Regions from separate parts of the Homo sapiens genome. Here all the other regions are linked to region 6. Evidence: promoter capture Hi-C in 16 types of primary human blood cells and fetal thymus (Javierre and others, 2016). All regions are on one chromosome and are shown on one strand. Each heading gives the region's core, a stretch centred on a gene start or on the middle of the fragment in contact. The rest is flanking DNA. Distances are from core to core; before and after follow the strand shown.

Evidence for each region. Contacts are between HindIII fragments. The CHiCAGO score rates a contact against its expected background, and 5 or more counts as called.
Region 1: a contact is called between a fragment that was not itself captured here and the fragment with the promoter of HDDC2 in region 6, in 2 of 17 cell types (total CD4 T cells and activated CD4 T cells). The highest score is 6.3, in total CD4 T cells.
Region 2: a fragment that was not itself captured here is called in contact with the fragment with the promoter of HDDC2 in region 6 in 6 of 17 cell types (total B cells, monocytes, naive CD8 T cells and 3 more); the score reaches 9.6 in total B cells.
Region 3: a contact is called between a fragment that was not itself captured here and the fragment with the promoter of HDDC2 in region 6, in 10 of 17 cell types (total B cells, naive CD8 T cells, naive B cells and 7 more). The highest score is 13.8, in total B cells.
Region 4: a contact is called between a fragment that was not itself captured here and the fragment with the promoter of HDDC2 in region 6, in 5 of 17 cell types (naive CD4 T cells, erythroblasts, fetal thymus and 2 more). The highest score is 9.2, in naive CD4 T cells.
Region 5: a fragment that was not itself captured here is called in contact with the fragment with the promoter of HDDC2 in region 6 in 4 of 17 cell types (total B cells, non-activated CD4 T cells, total CD4 T cells and 1 more); the score reaches 9.4 in total B cells.
Region 7: a contact is called between a fragment that was not itself captured here and the fragment with the promoter of HDDC2 in region 6, in 4 of 17 cell types (activated CD4 T cells, non-activated CD4 T cells, total CD4 T cells and 1 more). The highest score is 6.2, in activated CD4 T cells.

What each region holds. Positions count from the first base shown.
Region 1 is chr6:126,175,857-126,178,737 of GRCh38, reverse strand. It overlaps a transcript of TRMT11 not described here. Among named protein-coding and RNA genes, the nearest start is that of CENPW, 160 kb to the left of the region's middle. The HindIII fragment of the contact is 270 bases long and covers 1,210-1,479 here.
Region 2 is chr6:125,903,105-125,905,804 of GRCh38, reverse strand. All of the region lies in intron 10 of NCOA7 (nuclear receptor coactivator 7), which reads right to left. Among named protein-coding and RNA genes, the nearest start is that of HINT3, 52 kb to the left of the region's middle. The HindIII fragment of the contact is 8,983 bases long and covers 1-2,700 here.
Region 3 is chr6:126,002,150-126,004,849 of GRCh38, reverse strand. All of the region lies in intron 7 of TRMT11 (tRNA methyltransferase 11), which reads right to left. Among named protein-coding and RNA genes, the nearest start is that of TRMT11, 17 kb to the right of the region's middle. The HindIII fragment of the contact is 590 bases long and covers 1,092-1,681 here.
Region 4 is chr6:125,941,899-125,944,706 of GRCh38, reverse strand. No RefSeq gene overlaps it. Among named protein-coding and RNA genes, the nearest start is that of HINT3, 13 kb to the left of the region's middle. The HindIII fragment of the contact is 5,560 bases long and covers 1-2,808 here.
Region 5 is chr6:125,923,465-125,926,164 of GRCh38, reverse strand. The region is part of intron 13 of NCOA7 (nuclear receptor coactivator 7); the gene reads right to left. Among named protein-coding and RNA genes, the nearest start is that of HINT3, 32 kb to the left of the region's middle. The HindIII fragment of the contact is 5,398 bases long and covers 1-2,700 here.
Region 6 is chr6:125,300,572-125,303,453 of GRCh38, reverse strand. It overlaps HDDC2 (HD domain containing 2), which reads left to right and starts at 1,487. Exons shown (of 6, transcript NM_016063.3): 1 at 1,487-1,605; 2 at 2,795-2,882. The coding sequence starts at 1,522. RefSeq lists a silencer at 1,458-1,797. The HindIII fragment of the contact is 13,888 bases long and covers 1-2,882 here.
Region 7 is chr6:126,019,070-126,021,769 of GRCh38, reverse strand. It overlaps TRMT11 (tRNA methyltransferase 11), which reads right to left. Exons shown (of 13, transcript NM_001031712.3): 12 at 490-610. Among named protein-coding and RNA genes, the nearest start is that of TRMT11, 34 kb to the right of the region's middle. The HindIII fragment of the contact is 1,572 bases long and covers 549-2,120 here.

The DNA.
Region 1 (2,881 bases), core at 95-2,594, 880 kb before region 6:
TCTGGGGTCAAGAAAAAAGACCTAGACACCAAATAAACAGCTGGTTTTCTCAGTTTTTCTACATGGTGACCCTAAGGAAACATGCGCTATACATACTTAGGATTTCAATCAACTTGTCTTTCACATAAGGCAGAACAGAAAGTATCTAGCATAGAAGTCAGAGTCTACAATGCATAAACAGAATAAAAGTAACTTAGAAGAGACAGATATATTGTATGAAGAAGAATATAGTCACAGCTATGTTTCCCTGGGAGGTAGACTCTGAAATGGGCTTGAGCATGCAAGATATTTATTAGGGAGTCACTTTGGAGGGGACAAAAGCAGGGGTGGGCTAACAAAGAAGGCAAGCTGCAAGGCCAGTCCCATGACAGCCTCAGCCTCAGTGTCTGGGGCTAGAACAGCCCTTCAGAACTCTCCCACATTGGGCCAAGATGGCCAAGCACTCATAGCTCACATGGAACAGTCTTTGGGTGTGGCTACCTCAAAAAGGGAAGGTGATCTTGGGCAACAACTCTTTCCTTGAAGGGTGATCTGAGTGTTGCATCCAGTGCCTACCATAAAAACTTTAAAGAAACTATAATAAATAAATTTAGAAAGCTAAATAAAAGCACTATTCCATCTGATGAAATAAGAAAATAATGTTATGTATTTTTTAACATAGAGTATTCTGAAAACATAAGATCGCTCTTGAAATTTTAAAATATAACAATGGAAAGGGTTAAAGAGAATCCCCAGTTTGATAGTAAGGGGAAGACCCTGGACCAGAGCTTGCAGTAGGCACAGGGAACAACCAGTTGTGGGAGGAGGCAGCCAGAGGGCTTAAGGGAAAGGGGATGGATACTTTGAAAAAAATGAAACTGATGGATCACTTATTATATTTGCATTGAGAGAGGCTGTATACCTTGGATTTGGGGGATGAATCAGTAGTAGAAATATAAAAATCAGCTAATGAAAAAATCGTGCAATTTTTCATTTAGGAAAGCAAAGAGTTGAAAAAAAAGGTCAGAGCACCCTTCTGAGCTCAGCTGTGTATAGTATTTATGTAGTCATAATAAAGCAAACACAGAATAGAGGTTAAACCAAAAATGGTAATTTACCAGCATTTAGAGGCTGAGGAAATGGGAAGTATATATTAAGTGGTGTGGGGAGAGTTGATAGGGCTGGATTCTTTTCTCCAATAAGAGGAAGCAATAGAAAATACCTAAAGCTTTATTGCACATATATAAGAAATTAGTATAAACATGTTATTTAGCCATTTGGAATTAGATGCCAGAAGAAATAGCTAAACAAGTTGAAATTGGTATCTGCACATCGAGAGTTGGGGATAGCAAATGGAGAAGTAGAGTACTGCTGTTTTTCATTATAAATCTTATAATCCTTTTTGACTCTATATACTATATACCTGCATTAAATCCTGCTTTATGTTGATAAAAATTCCTGTTGCCATAATAGTTTTGCATCCAATCTTTTTGAAAAGCTTGGTTTATGGCACTACAATTCAGTCCAAGAGGAATTAACCCAAGTTCAAGCATATTTTATGATACCTGGGAAAGAAGAAATCAGAGAGCCAATGGTATTCATACTTTAATGATTTGATTTCCCATTTCAATAATTAATAATTTTCTTGACTCTGATGAAATACAATGACTTTGTTCCTACATGACCCATTTTACTCTTCATCTCAGCTAACTTTTCTTCAGCCACAATTTCTTTGTTTTTTTTTTTCTTGTTAAAAAACATCTGTTGAAGTCTAGGTAAAATTAACTTTAATTTTGGTTTCTTTCCAAATTCTGCATTTAACCTGGATGAGTGAATGAAGGGTTGAAGGACCATCGCATTTTCATGTTATAATTGATGTTTATGTTGGGCAAGTGAACACTGTTCATATATCAAGCTGTCAAGTATTGTCACCTTAATAGAGTAAACAATTAAAAAGAAGAATTGTAACAATCATTTTAATGGGCTTCTTGTTCATTAATTTCATAGAAAAAAACTAAAACTGATTTGTGAAAATAAACTACCCATACTTTGCCTCTTTCTCTCTTTTTAAAGTGATCCATCAGCTAGACCATCACAAGTGTTCTGTAAATCTATTTTATTCCCCTTACTTTATAGGAAAATTAGATTATAGATCCAAGTGGAGAAAAGGCCATTGTCTGGGTTCCTGTGATCTCATTTTACCCATAGGTCACAGGAGGTATTCAAAGTTCTTAAAATTGCACACTACAAAGAAGGAACTGAGGTCCTTTTTCTAGACAAGATAACCCACCACCTCCCTCAAGTGGTCAGTTGGATTAGTTTTCTGTTTCCAGAGCTGACTATAGTTATTTCCAAGAACTATAGAGTCATGTATAATGGCTGGGTTGAATGGACCTTTTTTTCTTTAATAAATTGATTGGATTTTAGGGTGAAGTGTGCTGACTATATTAAATTGCACTATATTTTAACTTCTCTATGTCAAAAGAAAAAGACACTTAACCAGGGGCTAGCAGTTGTTTACAGGGCTGGCCAGCTCAGGATTGCTTTCACTGTGGCCTTTGCCTTTCCTGCTAAGAGCTTAATCCAAACTTCATCATTTTGACTTCCTTAAAGTCTTGTACCAATTTCTTTTTCACTAGAGCAAAGGTGTTAATTCCTGCTTCCTGAACAAATTGGCGTTTCAGTGATTACACATCACCCAGCAAAACTTGCTTAATGATGTTATTTCCTAACCAAAACTGAAAACTTTTTTAAATGTTTCCTCAATTAATCTCTGAGAAAGGGGATAAGGGGTGGAGAGAGGGAAAGGAGACCCAGGGTGTCTTTCTGATGAGCAGCAGTAAGTAAAATTCTCAGTGTTATCTATAGTTAAATCATTTTCAGGGCATTTTGTACCAAAACA
Region 2 (2,700 bases), core at 136-2,635, 600 kb before region 6:
AGTAAAAATAAATAAATAATTTTAAAAAAGGGTTCGGATTTTATTTATTCCCAAAGTCCCTCCCACACCTCACTTTCCCTTTAGAGTGTATTGTTGACAACTGGGCTGGCAGATTTCCCAATTTCTTTTCATTCCTGAACTCTTCTATTCTGATTTTGTTCACCTTTCTGTATATGCCCTTTGTTAAATCGAACCTGGCTCCGGTATTTTCTGGAAGGTGGCAGGTTTTAAAATCTTATTCCTGACTGGGTGCGGTGGCTCACGCCTGTAATCCCAGCACTTCGGGAGGCCGAAGCAGGCAGATCATTTGAGGTCAGGAGTTCTAGACCAGCCTGGCCAACATGGTGAAACCCCATCTCTTCTAAAAATACAAAAATTAGCTGGGCATGGTGGCATTACAGGGGTCTGTAATCCCAGCTACTTGGGAGGCTGAGGCAGAAGAATCACTTGAACCCCGGAGGCATAGGTTGCAATGAGCCGAGATCGCACCGCTGCACTCCAGCCTGGGCGACAAGAGTGAAACTCTGTCTCAAAAAAAAAAAAAAAAAAAATCTTATTCCTTCCCTCACCACTCTAGTGAAGCTGATCTTCTCAAAGATCATCCACTGTAAACATCAGCAGTATCTCAGTCATCACCCGTTTTAACCTTGGCAGGTCTGTCAATGGCTTTTTGGAAACTCTCTGTGACTCACGCTGTGGTCTGGATGAACCACTGAGCTTCTCTGGGCTTCCACTACCTCAGGACACTAAGCAGGGCTGATGGATGAGTGAACAGAATTACTAGTAATTACTCACCCTGGCTGCTACCTGCTGCTGAAGCAGTGGGTGTGTGGTAACACCCATGAACAGAGAACTGGGTCAAGTACTGGGTCCCAAGAAACCACTAATATTTAAGGAGAAAGCAGAGCCGTCCTAGCACAAGGCCAAGAAGAAACAGCAGACAGGCAAAATCGAGCTCATAAAATGCAAACCTGAGCATTTCACCTAACTGCCTGTAATGTTTTCCCAATGTCTCCTCATAGGTTTTGGGATAAATGTGACCTCTTTGGGGCTGCCTGGGAGCTTTGTTTTGCACCAGTCTCCAAAATGCAGCCAGTGTCCATTCTGGCTCTGTGCTCACACTATTGCTTTCTTTTTAAATTAAGAATCATGGCAAAGGTAAGCCCAGTGAAGTGTCTAAGGCTGGGGTAGGGGAAGGCTTCCCAGGGGCCATGGTTAAACTGGGTGTTGAGGGAGGCAGAAGAGTCCATTACAGTAGGAAGGAGAAACAGCATTCTACTGGAGGGAACCCATGCAAAGACATGGCATTGGAAGACCAGGGGGATGCTGCAGTGAGGTCAAAGTGGACATGGCAGAGCAAAAGGAGGACAATGCCATCAGATCACTGGTGATTTCTGACAAAGAATTCTGTAAAAAGGACAGAGATGCAGGATACCCAGGCCCTGCCTCAAGGTGCTCAGGTGGTGGAGAGTAAACAAAAAAATGTTAGCACAGTGCCAACACAACAGCTGAGGGGCATCGGAGCTGGGATGTTGGTGTTGAATAGGAACTCAAGAGGCAGGGAAGGAATTCCTGAGAGGAGGAATAAAAGAACAAGACTTACCATTTGCTTAATGGAAAGGTAGGAGATAAGAAGAAAGAAGACAGAGCAGGTGGGTCACTAGGTCACAGAAAGTCCCAAGCATAAGATAAAATACTTGGAACTCAGCCTGTGGCCACTGTTTCCTGAAGTGTGGTGGGGCAGTCCCAGTGACTTCAGAGGGTATGCAGAAGAACATATTTTAATACTTACATATGTACTTAAAGGGTAGTGGCTCATGCCTGTAATCCCAGCACTTTGGGAGGCTGAGGTGGGCAGTTCATGAGGTCAAGAGTTCGAGACCAGCCTGTCCAATATGGTGAAACCCTGTATCTACTAAAATTAGAAAAAAATTAGTTGGGCATGATGGCACACACCTGTAATCCCAGCTACTTGGGAGGCTGAGGCAGAAGAATTGCTTGAACCCAGGAGGTGGAGGTTGCAGTGAGCTGAGATCATGCCACTACACTCCAGCCTGGGTGACAGAGCAAGATTCTATCTCAAAAAAAAAAAAAAGAAGGTAGTAAAAATAAGTACTACTAGCATATTATTTTTCTGATTTCACAGATATTGCTATTTAGGAAAAGACTAAGTAAAAAAAATTACTATTTAAATCCTTTAAAGACAACCATTAAGTAAACAGTAGTATAGATGGTAGGCAGATCTAGGGATATTTGTGAGGGAGGGAATGTATGTGAATAGCTGAAGCTGCCATAGGAAACCACAGGCACAGGGAGGCCATGCGTTCATAGCTTTAGCAGGAAGAGACATGGACAAATCTGTGCTTGAGAAGGACTGCTGTGGAGCCAAGTAGGGAAGGCCAGGAAGAGACAGGATCAACTAGAAATAAAGGCCTTGTTGCTATGGCTGCAATGGTGATCCAGGCAGGAGATGGTCAAGGCCAGACCCCAGGTGTGGCAGAGGGCATGGGAAGAAACCTGCCATACATGCTCTGCCAGGCACAAAATCAACCCATCTAAAATCTGGCCCTCACCTTTGTTTAGGTTTTCTGTTTAATTACAAATTTGGCCTTAATCAGATTTCTTCATACACCTCAAAGGTCTTTATCTTCAATACAAGGCTCCTTTAGGGATTTATCCCAAAGGAGACACCATATTCAA
Region 3 (2,700 bases), core at 137-2,636, 700 kb before region 6:
AGATTATTTTTCTCCTTTCAGTCTCCCAGAAGCTTTCTACCCTACTCTATATCCCTGAGAAAAATCACGAACCATGAGTAGTAAGTGAGCAATACATTTGGGAAACTACATACATTTCAATTTTGTACCTTTAAAATAAAAAGGGGATTAGACACATGAATTTTTTTTAAAAAACTATTTAAAAGGCAACCAAAAGAAAAATATCAACAAATGTTTTGTGAAAACTATGGCCATGGAGAAGGACACAGAGCTACGTATTTCTCCAGTCCTTCAGAAGGTACCACCCATCGATGAGGCAAAAGGCCCAAGAGAGGACAAACTGTGCTTAAGACCTGTGTCTATTCACAATTATTGGTTATTATGTTTCAAAACAAAAGCACCAAAAATTGACTGATGTCCTAAAGCTATACTTAAACTACAAACACAAATTACGAAAATATATTTCAGCAGCACCTTTGCAAAGATCCTCCTCTCATTTTCTATTAATTGTACTATATGAACAGTCAGACGTTCCAAATATACTACCCACTGTGAGGAGCTGCCCTAAAGCAAACAGAAGCAGGTCTCCTTGCCCCTCAACACACTATAAATGGTCCATATATTGACAGCTGTGAAGATAATTTCAAAATCTAGCCTCATCTACTCAACAAAAAAATATTACCCATACTGGCAACCATATTTTTTAACTCTGTGGTCTAGTCTATGTGTATGTATATATATTAATCATTTTCTACATGTATATATCTAAAAGAATTATTCTCAATTGACAAAAAAAGTTTTTAAAGTCCAAGAACAAGATTAAGAATAAAAGCTTTAGCATTTGGAAAAAGGTAAATTAAATCCATTCTTCACATCATACTGGAGAATAATCTCCAAATGAACCAGAGATCTAAAAAGAAAAAATGTAAAACTACAAAAGCACTAGAAGAAAACACAAATGAATTCCTCTATAACTTGAGTGTGGGGAAAACTTTTGCATGGCAAAAATCAATTAGTAGCAAAGTCAAAAGATAAATGACAAGCTAAGGGAAAATACTGCAGCATACATCACAGAAAAATAAGGGGAGTGTGAGGAGGTTGTATCTCAAGCTTACAAAGGACCTTGAAAAATCAGGGAAAGAGACCAAAAATGCTATCAAAAAATGGGCAAAAGACAAAAAAAGACAAATCAAAGAAAGTCATAATGGCCCTTAAAATATAAAAAATTGTGATACTTCATTCGTAACCATAGACATACAAATTAACACTACATTGAGATATCATTTTTCACCCAACAGAACAAGCAAAACTTCAAAAGCCTGAAATATACTCTGCTGGTGAGACTGTGGAAAAACAGGGACTCTCCTACAACTGTTGGTAGGAATCCAAAATAGTATAATGGAGACAAATTTGGCAGTATCTAATGAAACTGCATATGCATACACTCTTCAACCCAGAAATCCTACTTGTAAGAATTTACCCTAGGACAGAGGGGTCCAATCTTTTGGCTTTCCTGGGCCACATTCGAAGAAGAATTGTCTTGGGCTGTACATAAAATACACTAACACTAATGATAGCTGGTGAGCTAAAAAAAATTGCAAAAATTCTCATAACGTTTTAAGAAACTTTACAAGTTTGTATCAGGCCACATTCAAAGCCATCTGGGCCACATGTGGTCCATGGGCTGCGGGTTGGATAAGCTTGCCCTAGAGCTACATCTCCAACATTACAAAGGTATATATTCATAAGGTTAGTCATTTCAAGCATTATTTGTAACTGTAAAATACTGAAAACTACCGATGTCCAACTATAGGAGATTGTTTGAATAAATTACGGTACATACACTCATGAAGCAAAACTAAAACAGAATAAAGATAAGCTCCATGAACTGACAGGAAGTGATTTCCAGGAAATACCATTAAGTGAAAAAAGCAAAGTTAAAACCAACACACACAGTATGATACCTTTTGTGTAAGAAAGTAGCGAAAATAAGAAAATGTATATATTCCATTATGAATCAGAAAATGTATTATCATTACAAAAAGAAACAGGAAGAATCAACTAGAAAACAATGAAGTTAGTCACCTAGGATAGGTGGGAGAACAGGCTGGAAGCGTTATAAAGGTAAAGTGACATCTCTTTGAGTACCACTTCTTGTGTAGTTCTGACTTTTGGAAGCAAGTTCATCTTATACATATTTGAAAATAAAAGTAAATCAATAAGGAGTGGGGGATAGGAGATAAAAACCTAAAACAGAGGGCAAACTGGAACAAATGAACCCAAATGAATTTTAAATGAAAAGGGAAAAAGCAGGCACAGTATTTGACTTTACTGCCCCTTAGGGTGAAGAACTGAAAACACATCCTGAACTCTTATTCACAGGATATTTTTAAGTGGCATAAGCAAAACAACTGTGAAACCATTTCAGATATAGGAATGAGGAAAAGAGTAAATGTGTTGATGTAGCTAGGAATCAGGGTTCTCACTGTGGAAGAAGGTACACATAAACATAGAATAGGGTAGTCAAAAGGAAATCTGTAAGGATTGACTGCAATTTATAGTATATGTGCAAATTCACAGTGTCTAAAATACGTATATGCATGTGTATGTGCATACGCACAGTATATAAGAATAAATACATGTATATTTGCACATGCACTTACATGCATATTGTGTATATATGCATATATATTTTCTAGTTTGTCCACTGAAAGGATCTAT
Region 4 (2,808 bases), core at 120-2,619, 640 kb before region 6:
GAGGAAGTAGTGCTTGTGTGTGGGAAAAGAGAAATTTCCAGTTTCTGATTACTGAACTACCGTACAGCTCTCTTTGAACAAATACTGGCCGGTGGCCCAAAGTCCCAACTGTAGCTCTTTGAGCTTTGCTAAAGGACATTAAGGGAAGTCCTGATCTGTTGTTAAGTGGAAACAGTGTAAATTATTTCTAATGGAAAGAATGACAAAAGCAAAACTTCCCCATCCCTGCTATTTCCTTGATAAATTGCTTTGTTTACTCGTCTACAGGATGTAATGCAGACATTTCTGTTTTTTATAATCTTTCTTAAAAACCATGTCCTTAAACAAAGCATTGAAAATAATCTCTTCTTTTTTTTTTAAATCAGGAACAAGGCTACACCTGGACTTTGTATTTTTGATAAAGAATTCAGCATAAACAAAGTTGGGTGTGACTAACACCATCATATTTCTAACTTACTTTCATCTGGCATTTTACAATTTTCTAAGACACTTTCATATGCACAAATTGATTTTCATGTCAACTGAGAGAAAAGGATATTATTATCCCTATTTTAGAAATGGAGAAAATAGGACACAGGAAGATGAATTTACTTGGTGGATGATAGATGGGTCTGTCTTGCAGGCCTTTTAGTAGCACAGTGAGGCATTTCTTATCTCCTCCAAAGCAGTACGAAACAGCTACCATGTAAATCAGCATAACTCTGACATCCTGAAGTTAATGTCAATTTTCTTGTCAAGCTCACACCTATATTTCCTCATCATCTCAAGGCCAATGTATCTTATCCACACCACTAACTCTTGTTCTTATTAGTTACCCTCGAGGTAAAAATTTCTCTTTACTCATACCCAAACTTTCCCATGCTTCTTTTCCCCAAACTTTTTTCACTGCTAACCTCCTTTGAAGCTCTTTCCACTGTAAGAAACACAATTTCTTTGTACTTACTCAAACCTATATCCTCAACCTCTTAGCAGAGCGAAATCTTCACCTTCTTTCCTTAACTGAAACTTGGATTTCCTGCAAGAATATTATTTCCCTTGAGCTTTGACAAGCAAAAACTGCTTATTCTCTCTTCCCAACACACTGAGAGATTTGGAAGCAGGGCTGGCATTCTCCTAGCTTCTAAATGCCAGCTCCAGGTGATTCCATTCCTACCCAAGTGCAATGGTGCGATCTCAGCTCACTGCAACCTCCACCTCTTCGGTTCAAGCAATTCTTCTGCCTCATCCTCCCAAGTAGCCGGTATTACAAGCGTGCGCCATCAAGCCTGGCTAATTTTGTATTTTTGGTAGAGACAGAGTTTCATCAGGTGGGCCAGGGTTGTCTTGAACTCCTGACCTCAGGTGATCCACCCACCTCGGCTTCCCAAAGTACTGGGATTACAGGCATGAGCCACAGTGCCCAGCCCTCTGCCCTCTTTGGAGTCTCGTGCTATAGCATGGAACATAATCACCTTCATCTACCTGCTTCTAGATCACTCCTAGATTCACAGAGAACTTCAGCACCTGGCTAACAAACACTGCCAAGCTCCTGCCGTTATCTTAGACAACTTCACTGTCCATGACTCACCGCTTCTCAAACTCCTGGATTTCAATGCCCTTTGCCTCTATTCCTCTTTAACACAACTCACCCCTGTGGCAAATCCAAACTTTATAATCACTGAGATTATCTGGAAACCTGAACAATGACTGTTCACAGCTCTGTCAGCACATGTCCTAGCAACTTTTATACTCTCCTGACATGGTAGCAATTTCTGTTCTTGATCTTTCTCTCTTTAACTCTTCCAGCCACCCTCCCATCTTTACTTCCTTCTCTAACCAGCCTACTCTAGCGGCCCACCAATTCCCTGAATTCCGTCTCACCACAGCCTCCTGCTTTCTGCTGTACTCCCCACTAACTTGCTATTTCCTGTAGTTATCCTGGTGGTTTAAGGCATAGACTGGGGGATCCAGACTCCCTTCATTTGAAGCCCATTTCTACCACTTAGTAGTGATTCCACTTCAAATAAATCATTTAATTTTTTATGGCTTCCATTTTCCTTAGCTGGAAAATAATAGTAGTACCTATTCATGACTATCACAAGTTATTATGAAGACTGGAGTAATATACGTAGAGTGCTTAGAATAGTACCTAGCACATAAGTGTTCAGTAAATGCTTACTCTTATGACAACTGAACTTCTGGATGCTACTTCCTTAAAAAAGTCGTATAACCAAATTAATAAGCGCAAATATATGTCCAGATATGCAAAGTAAAACACAAACTGACAAAAATCTTCTTTTTTCATTCCTCTCTCTATATATTGCCTGTTTAAGGGAGACTTTTGAGAAAATACCCTGGTAGGGCCTGAGACTCTCTGACACCATTATGTTAACCGTTTGTCTTCCTCACCAGAAGTATATAAGATTAACAGACTGATGAATGTCTATTATTTTTAAGGCAGGAATGGCAAGGACATTAGGTGACCTCTTCCAAGAAGACAGACTTTAAAAACCAGGCAGTTTGGGCACAGTGGCTCATGCCTGTAATCCTAGCACTTTGAAAGGCTGAGGCTGGTGGATTGCCTGAGCTCAGGAGTTCAAGACCAGCCTGGGCAACATGGTGAAACCCTGTCTCTACCAAAAAACACAAACAATTAGCCAGGCGTGGTGGTGCGTGCCTGTGGTCCCAGCTAGGTCTCAGGAGGCTGAGAAGTGGGAGGATCACTTGAGCCTGGGATGCAGAGGTTGCAGTGAGCCAAGATCGCGCCACTGCACTCCAACCAGGGTGACAGAGTGAGACCCTGTCTCGCCAAAAACAAACAACAACAAC
Region 5 (2,700 bases), core at 187-2,686, 620 kb before region 6:
TAATTTTTGTACTTTTAGTAGAGACGGGGTTTCACCACGTTGGTCAGGCTGGTCTGGAACTCCTGGCCTCAGGTGATCCACCTGCCTCGGCCTACCAAAGTGCTGGGATTACAGGTGTGAGCCACCACACCTGGCCTTTTAGCTAAAATTTTCTTAGCAATTCTGGAAATGCATTTAAAGACTAAGGGCTGGATGATATTGGGGAATTACTGTTAATTTTGTTAGATCTATTGCATTGTGATTATGAGAAAATGTCTTTTTTTCTATTAATGTATTTAAAAAAATTGTATAAAACAACTTTTATATAATAGTGTTGTTCAGCCTATACCATATAAAAATGTAATACATTTAGCAATAGCAGAACAAAGGAATCCAAGGGAATAGATGAAGAGCAACCCAGAAATGATAAAAGGAAAGTCATATAACAAAACATATAAATGTACATTTGCTCTTCTTCTCTCAACTTCCTTAGCAGACATAAAATTATGTAACATAGTAATCATAACAATCTATTGCTATATTTGTAATATATACAGATATAACATTTATAACATTAGTACCACAAAAAGTTAAAAGATGTAATAGAGCAAAATAGGAGTAACATTTCTATACTTCACTGGAAGTTAGTAATTAGTCTCTATTAATTGCCTGATGATTGTTCTATTGTTGTCAACAATGCCTGGTGGTGTAAATTATTCCACAGTCTGATTCAATTAAATGTAGGTTCCTTTGCATGGATAGTTTCTTTGGCCAGACTATGAAGTTTACCCTGTCTCCAGAAAGGCTCTCCATAGCTGTCTCTTTTCTTGGATCTCTCTGGTAAAGTAGATGGTCTACAGTTTAATTTGTTGCCTTCATGGCTACAGCCTTCTTCTTAACACCAAAATTCTCATTGTTTTCTAGAGTGCCCTTTGGCTTGAACTTCCCCAAGTGTGTCTAAACAAAGTCAGTTCCTTTGGGTAGAGCTTTAGAACTCTATGTCCTGTGGCCTGCCTCTTCCCCTGGGAAAAAAATCTCTAACCCACTGCTCTGAAGCTAGGGACTAGACAGTGACAGCAGCCTCTGGTCTTGGCTTGCCTCATCTGGTGCAAAACTTCTGCCCTGTGAGCTGAAATGAGAGCAGGAGAGACCCCTGTATTCTCAGCCTGCCATGCCTACCGTAGAGCATGGCTCTGTGAGTGGAGGGTGGGTAGAAGAAGAAAGCCCCCTACCTCTAGGCCACACTTGCTTGGATTTTAGCCTCAGAAACACTGATCTTGGGTGGGAGATAAGAAATACAGGGGACCCACAGTGAGAGAGGGTACACCATAACCCTTGACTGGCAGCTGTGGGAAGAGAGTGCCCCATCTTCTTGGCCATACATGCCCAGAGTGGAACCACTGTCAGTCTCAGCGGGGGGTTAGGGAAGGGAGAGAGTTGTGCCTCAAGTGCCACAGAGTCCCACTGTTATAACTGAGATTAATTAGATTTTCTTGAATAAATATTCCCTCACTGGCTTAGAATAATTTCCAGAGACTTTAAGTGATTGTTGTTTTTGTTATTTCTACCAGCTATGGTTCTTTCACTGGGGACTGATTCTGCAGAGCTCCTCATTGCTGCCAGTCTACATATATAATATTTTTATATTAGAATGTCATATAATTCATTTTCAGACACATTTGCAGGTGTTGTTCTATCATGTTCTCAAACACAGCAAAGCCACAGTTTCCCCTTCGGGGTAGATGGGGTGCAGAAAGCAAAGTTAGTGTCTGGTTGTCCTCAAATGACACAAGTGCCTCCAGGGTACATGATTCAGCAAGACTCCACCCAGTGACAAGACTGCAACCTTCAGTTGTAGGCCTCCTTTACAAATCGCACAGGAAGTTTGGTAAAACTGTGCTTCATCAATACCTGTTCTGTGTGAACCATCACATTCCTCAACAAGTGTGATATTTTGGTAAGTAAATAGGACAAATAATCTATACTTAGGTGAGAGTCTGTATGTGTGCTCTAAGATAATATAGCCATACCTCATCCAAAATATAACATCCAATTCTGGAACATTTCACTAAATTCCTAAGTCTCTTTTAAACCAACTGTTATCATTATTTTAATTTTTTTATCTTGACTCTACCCACCTTTCAGCTTGGATCTTTATTAAGCAAAATGTCAGCAATCAGGAAATAACAATAGTAACAATGACAGCTAAATTAATTCCCACAACTCTTAAGCTACAATAATATTACGATAAAGTCACAAAGATCACTGCTAAGAAAGACAGTGTCTTTGGTACCCCCATTTGTTCCCTAATTTTTCCCAAGGCAAATCATGACAGCAAAGTTCTATTTCCTGTAAAATGATCCCATGTATATGGCTCATTACAACGTGGACATGTCTCAGTATAAAAATGTTGTGCTTCACAGTAAGCTCCCCAATGCTTAACAGTGCCTAGCGCCTAACAGGCTCTAATTAGATATTTGCTGAGTGGATGAATAAATGAATGAATGAATGAATAAATGTTGAGTAAAATCTGCTTCAGTGACAGAAAATCTGCTCAATGCTGCATCTTAAAATCTTAGAGGAATTTCTAACAGAACACAGGTCAAACTGAAATGAGCAATGAGCAGATGTGAATGATGTCTTCCTTTCATGATGCAAGAGACTGACAGGAAAGTGACCGAAAAAAACCTGGACAGATTCCACTCCCATTCTGAGCTGACT
Region 6 (2,882 bases), core at 238-2,737:
TCCACAGGCCCCCTTTGAAGTTAGACGTGGCAGTGTTACTTATTTCACCAATGATACGTAGACAAAAGGTCATATATCACTTCCAGAGACAGGCTTTAAGAGCCAGAGTGCCACTTTTCTTTTTTCCAATTTTGGCAAAAGAGAGCAAAGAAAGCCTCCTAGCTCCCTGAGTAAGGTTAGAGCAAGCAGCATCCTCTAGCTGATCTACAATAGACACTTAGCATGAGAGAGAAATAAACCTTTGATGTGTTAAACTGCTGAGATACAGGAAATAAGGAGGTTGTTTGTTATTATAACATCCCAGCCTATACTTTGCTTCCTAATTTGGTGAGAAAATAGAAGCAATCAGAAGAGAACTTCTACAACCTCCCATGACCACATGTGCGACTGATTAGTCACCCTATACTCTGTCCTCCTCCAATATTTGAATGAATTCTCCATATTCCTATCTAAAGCCCATCTTTTATCTTGTACACCAGATGGGAATATTTTTCCTTACTCAAGGCCGACATTCAAATATTTCTCTTCTTTGTCTCTTACATAATCAATGTTTCCCTTTCTACTAGATCCCCTTCATCAGTAAACATACATAATATCTCCTGTTTTGAAACAATCTCTCCACTAGTTAACAGCACCCCAACCCCATCTCCAATGTGCTGTAATACTTGCTCCTATTCTCTTCGGAATTATCTCACTAGGTTCTGCTTGGCCCACTACACTGAAAACTGCTTTTGTCAGGGTAACCAATAATATTGAATTTACTAAGTCTGGAAGTCAAACCTTGGTCCTCACATTGACTTGGTTGACCATATTCCTTCCTTCTTGAAATATTTTTGTACATGGCTTCCAGGACACAACTATCCTACCTACTAATCCTCTTCCTACCTCACTGGCTGTTCCCTCTTGATCTCACAAAGCCTAAATGTTGGGGTTCAGGTCTTGGGTGTCTTTTCTTCTTCATTCACACCCTCTTGCCAGGTGACCTCATCCAGTTTCATGGTTTTACACTGTCAACTGAAGAATAACGAGGTTCATAAATTTAGAAAGGAGAGCTTTATTTTTCATAAAGAGTACTGAGTGTCAAGTATGTGCCAAGCAAGGTGTCTGCCACTGACGGAGCAATGCCCAAGCAGCGGACACCAAGGCCAAGAAGGCGAAGGCTGGACAGAAGGTCCTGAGAAAACCGTGAGAATATGGAGGAGGGGGAGGAGGAATAAGAACAGGAGGAGGAGGGGGAGGAGGAATAAGAACAGGAGGAGGAGGAAGAGGAGGGGGAGAGAGGAAGAGGGGCAGGAGGAAGAGGAAGAGGAGAAAGCGGAAGTGGGGGAGGAGGAGGAGGAGTTGGAAGGGGAGGAGGAAGAGGGGGAGCAGGAAGAGGGGCAGAAGGAAGAAGAAGAGGGGGAGGAGAAAGAGATAGAAGAGTAAGAGGAGGGGGAAGAAAGACAAGGGGAAGGGGAGGAGGAGGAGGACGGGGAGGAGCTTCGCCGCGGCCTGCTCCGCCCAGCCGGGGTCGGTGGCCGCATGGCTTCGGTCTCCTCTGCGACCTTCTCGGGCCACGGGGCTCGGTCCCTACTGCAGTTCCTGCGGCTGGTAGGGCAGCTCAAGGTGAGCGGGCACCAGGCCGGGAGGCCGCGGCCGAGCGGGCGGGACTGTGGGGCGGCGGAGCTTCCGGCCTCCCCGCTCGGCCGGCGGTCTTTGCCCTTCCTGCGCCGCGTCCGCCACGCCGAATTCCGGAAAGGCCCCAGTCCTGCGGATGCGGCCGCGCGTTGCCGACGGTGGACGGAGGAAGCAGCCGGCGGGACAGGCTGGCCAGCTGGGGCGGCCCGGAGTCTGAGCCTAGAGCCTGGCGCCGCGAGGTCCGCACTGCAGCCGCGCCAGTTCCCGGAGAGCAGCCGGCCTGGCCCTGCCTGCACTGAGCTTTTCCGGGGCTCACGACCCCAGAACTCGTGTGTGTGTGTGTGTGTGTGTGTGCTCACGACCCCAGAACTCGTGTGTGTGTGTGTGTGTGTGTAAAGCGCGGCTGCTTCTGAGCACGGGTGGGAAGAACAGAATCTGTCGGCTCCTCAGATTTTAAGTGGAGCTTTTTATGTCTGTCTCACAGTTACTTCCAGAAACAAGACTTTTCTCCCGGCCACCCCCCAAACGGGATTTAATGTAATACACACGAGTTTCATCATGTGCGTCTTCCCCGTCTCTCTCCCAAGTTCAAAGTAAATTATCCGTTTCATGCCACTCTGACTACTATTTATAACATTCCTTAGAGATGTAGAATTCTGAGGAAGAAATGCAGTTTCACAAGATGAAGTTATGATGTGAATAAAAGGAAGAGTCACGGCTGGTAGCATCAAGCAATTAGAAGTGCCCTTATCCCTTGTGCCTCAGAATTTGGAAGCCTATCACTCGTTCACGTTCAGACCCTTCAATACAGTGTTTTCTGCTTGTGTAGGATTATTTGAAGGCAAAAAGCCGCAACTCTTGTTCGGAAAAATGCAGTTTTGTTTTTGTTTAAAGGACTTGCATATGTTCCATAATTATACATCAGTAACAGAATAATTTGACGAATGGACTTTGTGACTTATCTCTCTCTGTCTTCTACCCCTTTCATTCTCTGAGCTCTCTAGTTCATTTGATTCCAGATGTCTATCATTTTAGCTAGTTTAGCAAAACATTTTGTAATAGGTTCTGAAATTATGACCCGGCTTCTGTGTGTTATATCCTGGACATCTCTTGAAGAGCATAGCAGATAGTTAATATTTGTTCTTTAAAACTTCTTTTTCTTCTTCATATTTATCAGAGAGTCCCACGAACTGGCTGGGTATACAGAAATGTCCAGAGGCCGGAGAGCGTTTCAGATCACATGTACCGGATGGCAGTTATGGCTA
Region 7 (2,700 bases), core at 85-2,584, 720 kb before region 6:
ATGTAAGAGAGTAAGAATTTTGTATGTAAGAGAGAGACAAAGAGAGAATGTGTTGGGCCCTAACAAACTGGGGACATTTACTTTCTCTCTTTATTTATAAAGCAACATATTCTCTTCATTACAGTCTGCAATCAAGTAGGTTCTGCTTTTGGAGAAAAATGGTAACTAGGACATTGCTAATTAGATAGCAGTTGTTTAATAATGCTGTTTTATAACTGAGTTAGCAACAAGGATATCAAATAAAGCCTGAGAAGTGAGGGTCAACGTCTATTTGAACTCTACTCAATGTCTATGTCTATATCCAACTCCTACCCTTCAATCCCAACTGGATGCCACAAATCTCTTCAACTTCTGCCTCTTCCTAAATTGATCTGTAATTTTTAAAATATCAAGGAATAACATTTCCAAACTCTATCACAGGAAAACTATTTAGAAACAACTACTTTTGATTCTTTCAGAATTTATCCCAAAAATACTGAAGCAATTTACCTCAAATTTCTTCACCTTTTCCATTGTGATCAAGCGCCTTGATGTGTGACTGGAAAGCTTCTGCTCGCAGTTGCTAACGAGTTCCAGGCAAGGGTGCCAAGGCACCATCTCTTCAGTGTATCTGAAGAAAGAACAGCTGACTGTTAGGAACACTCACATGTGTGGGCCACAAAGAATCATGGGGATCGTCCAGTGTAGTGTGGGATGTTCTTCCACTACATGCTCTTTTTCCCCACATATGCTAACTGTCCACATGATCCATAAACTATCTATAAGCAAAGTAGCTTAATTTTATCATATCCCAAAAATGCAGTTAAATTTTTTACCTGTAGAATAAGAGAGAGAGAAATATTGTAAGTACATTTTGTTGAAGAATGCCAAACATTTAAACCACAAAAGTACAAGATGATTCCACCCTACAGAATTCCACAAGAGTAGACAAAAATACACTCAACAACATCCCTTGACATTCATGAAGGACTGATTCATCTGTAGATTTTTATAAATTCCCGAAGTGTATAATCCACTACAGCATATACTTTCCCCTCTAAAATGAAGTGCCCGTAAAATTTTAATAACGTCTTGTTAAAATTTAAACGTCTAATTTAAAAACATCTCTATTACGTTTGTAAATACAGAACTAAAGTTATTTGTAAAATTATTCAAATAAACTACAACTAAAATAAACACTACAGATTACATCAGTCTTCTGGTCATATGAACCAGGAAACAAAATGAAAATATGCCAATGAGTGGTGGAGACTGCTACTGTACAGCACATGTCCTACATGGATGAAGATGATGACAATGTCTAGAAAGCAGGAGTCAATAGCAGGAGTTCAGAATCTGGCATCTGACAGGTTGTTAGCATCAATCTTGGCCAAAGAAATAGGTAACAGAGGTGGGAGAAACAGCTATGGAACAGAATGTGAAAGAACAGCAAGGGAGGGGACTCACTAGGCATGGGTACTTTTAAGAACACTGTGTTGGCCAGTATTTATTTTTCCTTTGCAATTTTTTACACCTTTTTGGATGGTGTCTGCACACATTTATTATACAGGTAATCTTAAAGGTCTGCTCCAAAATAGCAAAGGTGCTGATTAGTTTTTCATGTAAAGGACCACAATCTCAGCTACCTGTTTTAATGCATCAACACTGTTTTCACCACCACTCTTTCATGAACTTTTCTAGGTCCCACTGACCTTCAACGAGCTCTCCCTATTACCTCAACCATATGCTCAAACCCATCATCACCCACTTCCCAAGCATCATTCATAATGCACTTCACTTTATTATCAGTGGAAAGAATTATCTTGAAGTCATTCTCTGACTTCTTCCTAGAGCTTTCTAACAAGTAATGAGCACTTCAGATTTCACCTCATCTAGTAATTCTTTAATGTTCACTACATAGCCAGAAATGTTGTACTTCTTATAACAATGACATCAAATTTTGAATCTTCATGCAATGCATTTATGACATGAAAGAATAAATTCTTTTTTTACTTTTTCAGAGAACGGATCTTGCTCTGTTGCCGAGGCTGGAGTACAGTAGAAAGAATATATTCTACACCATGGTTGAGACTAAAATAAAAAGTGCTAACAGAGAGAAGATATAGCCTTAACCTTAAGCTTGCAAACCGTAGGATCTATAGATGCTGGAAACAGTTTGTGTCAAACTAAGTAATATACTAATTTTTAAAGGAAAAAAATTTTTTACTTCCTGGTGGACTGACTTAAAGTATTTTTTTATTAAGGTGTCACTTAAATATGCACAAGCATAAATTAGATATAAACTCTTCATGTTTAGATCCCTAATATAACTATAAAACCCAAAAAGCAAATTTATCAATCAAATCCAAGGTACCAACACAATTTTAATTAACATCTATGACATGAATGACGCTAAACTGCTAAACTAAGTTGCTGCATTTGGTTTTAACAGCAGAAAAACATATTTGCATGTTTCATATTATCTTTTTTGACTCGATCTTAATTCATTTTTAACAATTAATCTATTATATTAATGAGCCAATTAATTTAACAATACACTCCCAAAGCACCATACTAAAAAGATTAAAAAATAGCAGTTAAAAAATTCTTCAGCTGGGCGTGGTGGCTCACGCCTGTAATCCTAGTGCTTTGGGAGGCCAAGGCAGGTGGATCACCTGAGGTCAGGAGTTCAAGACCAGCCTGGCCAAAATGGTGAAACCC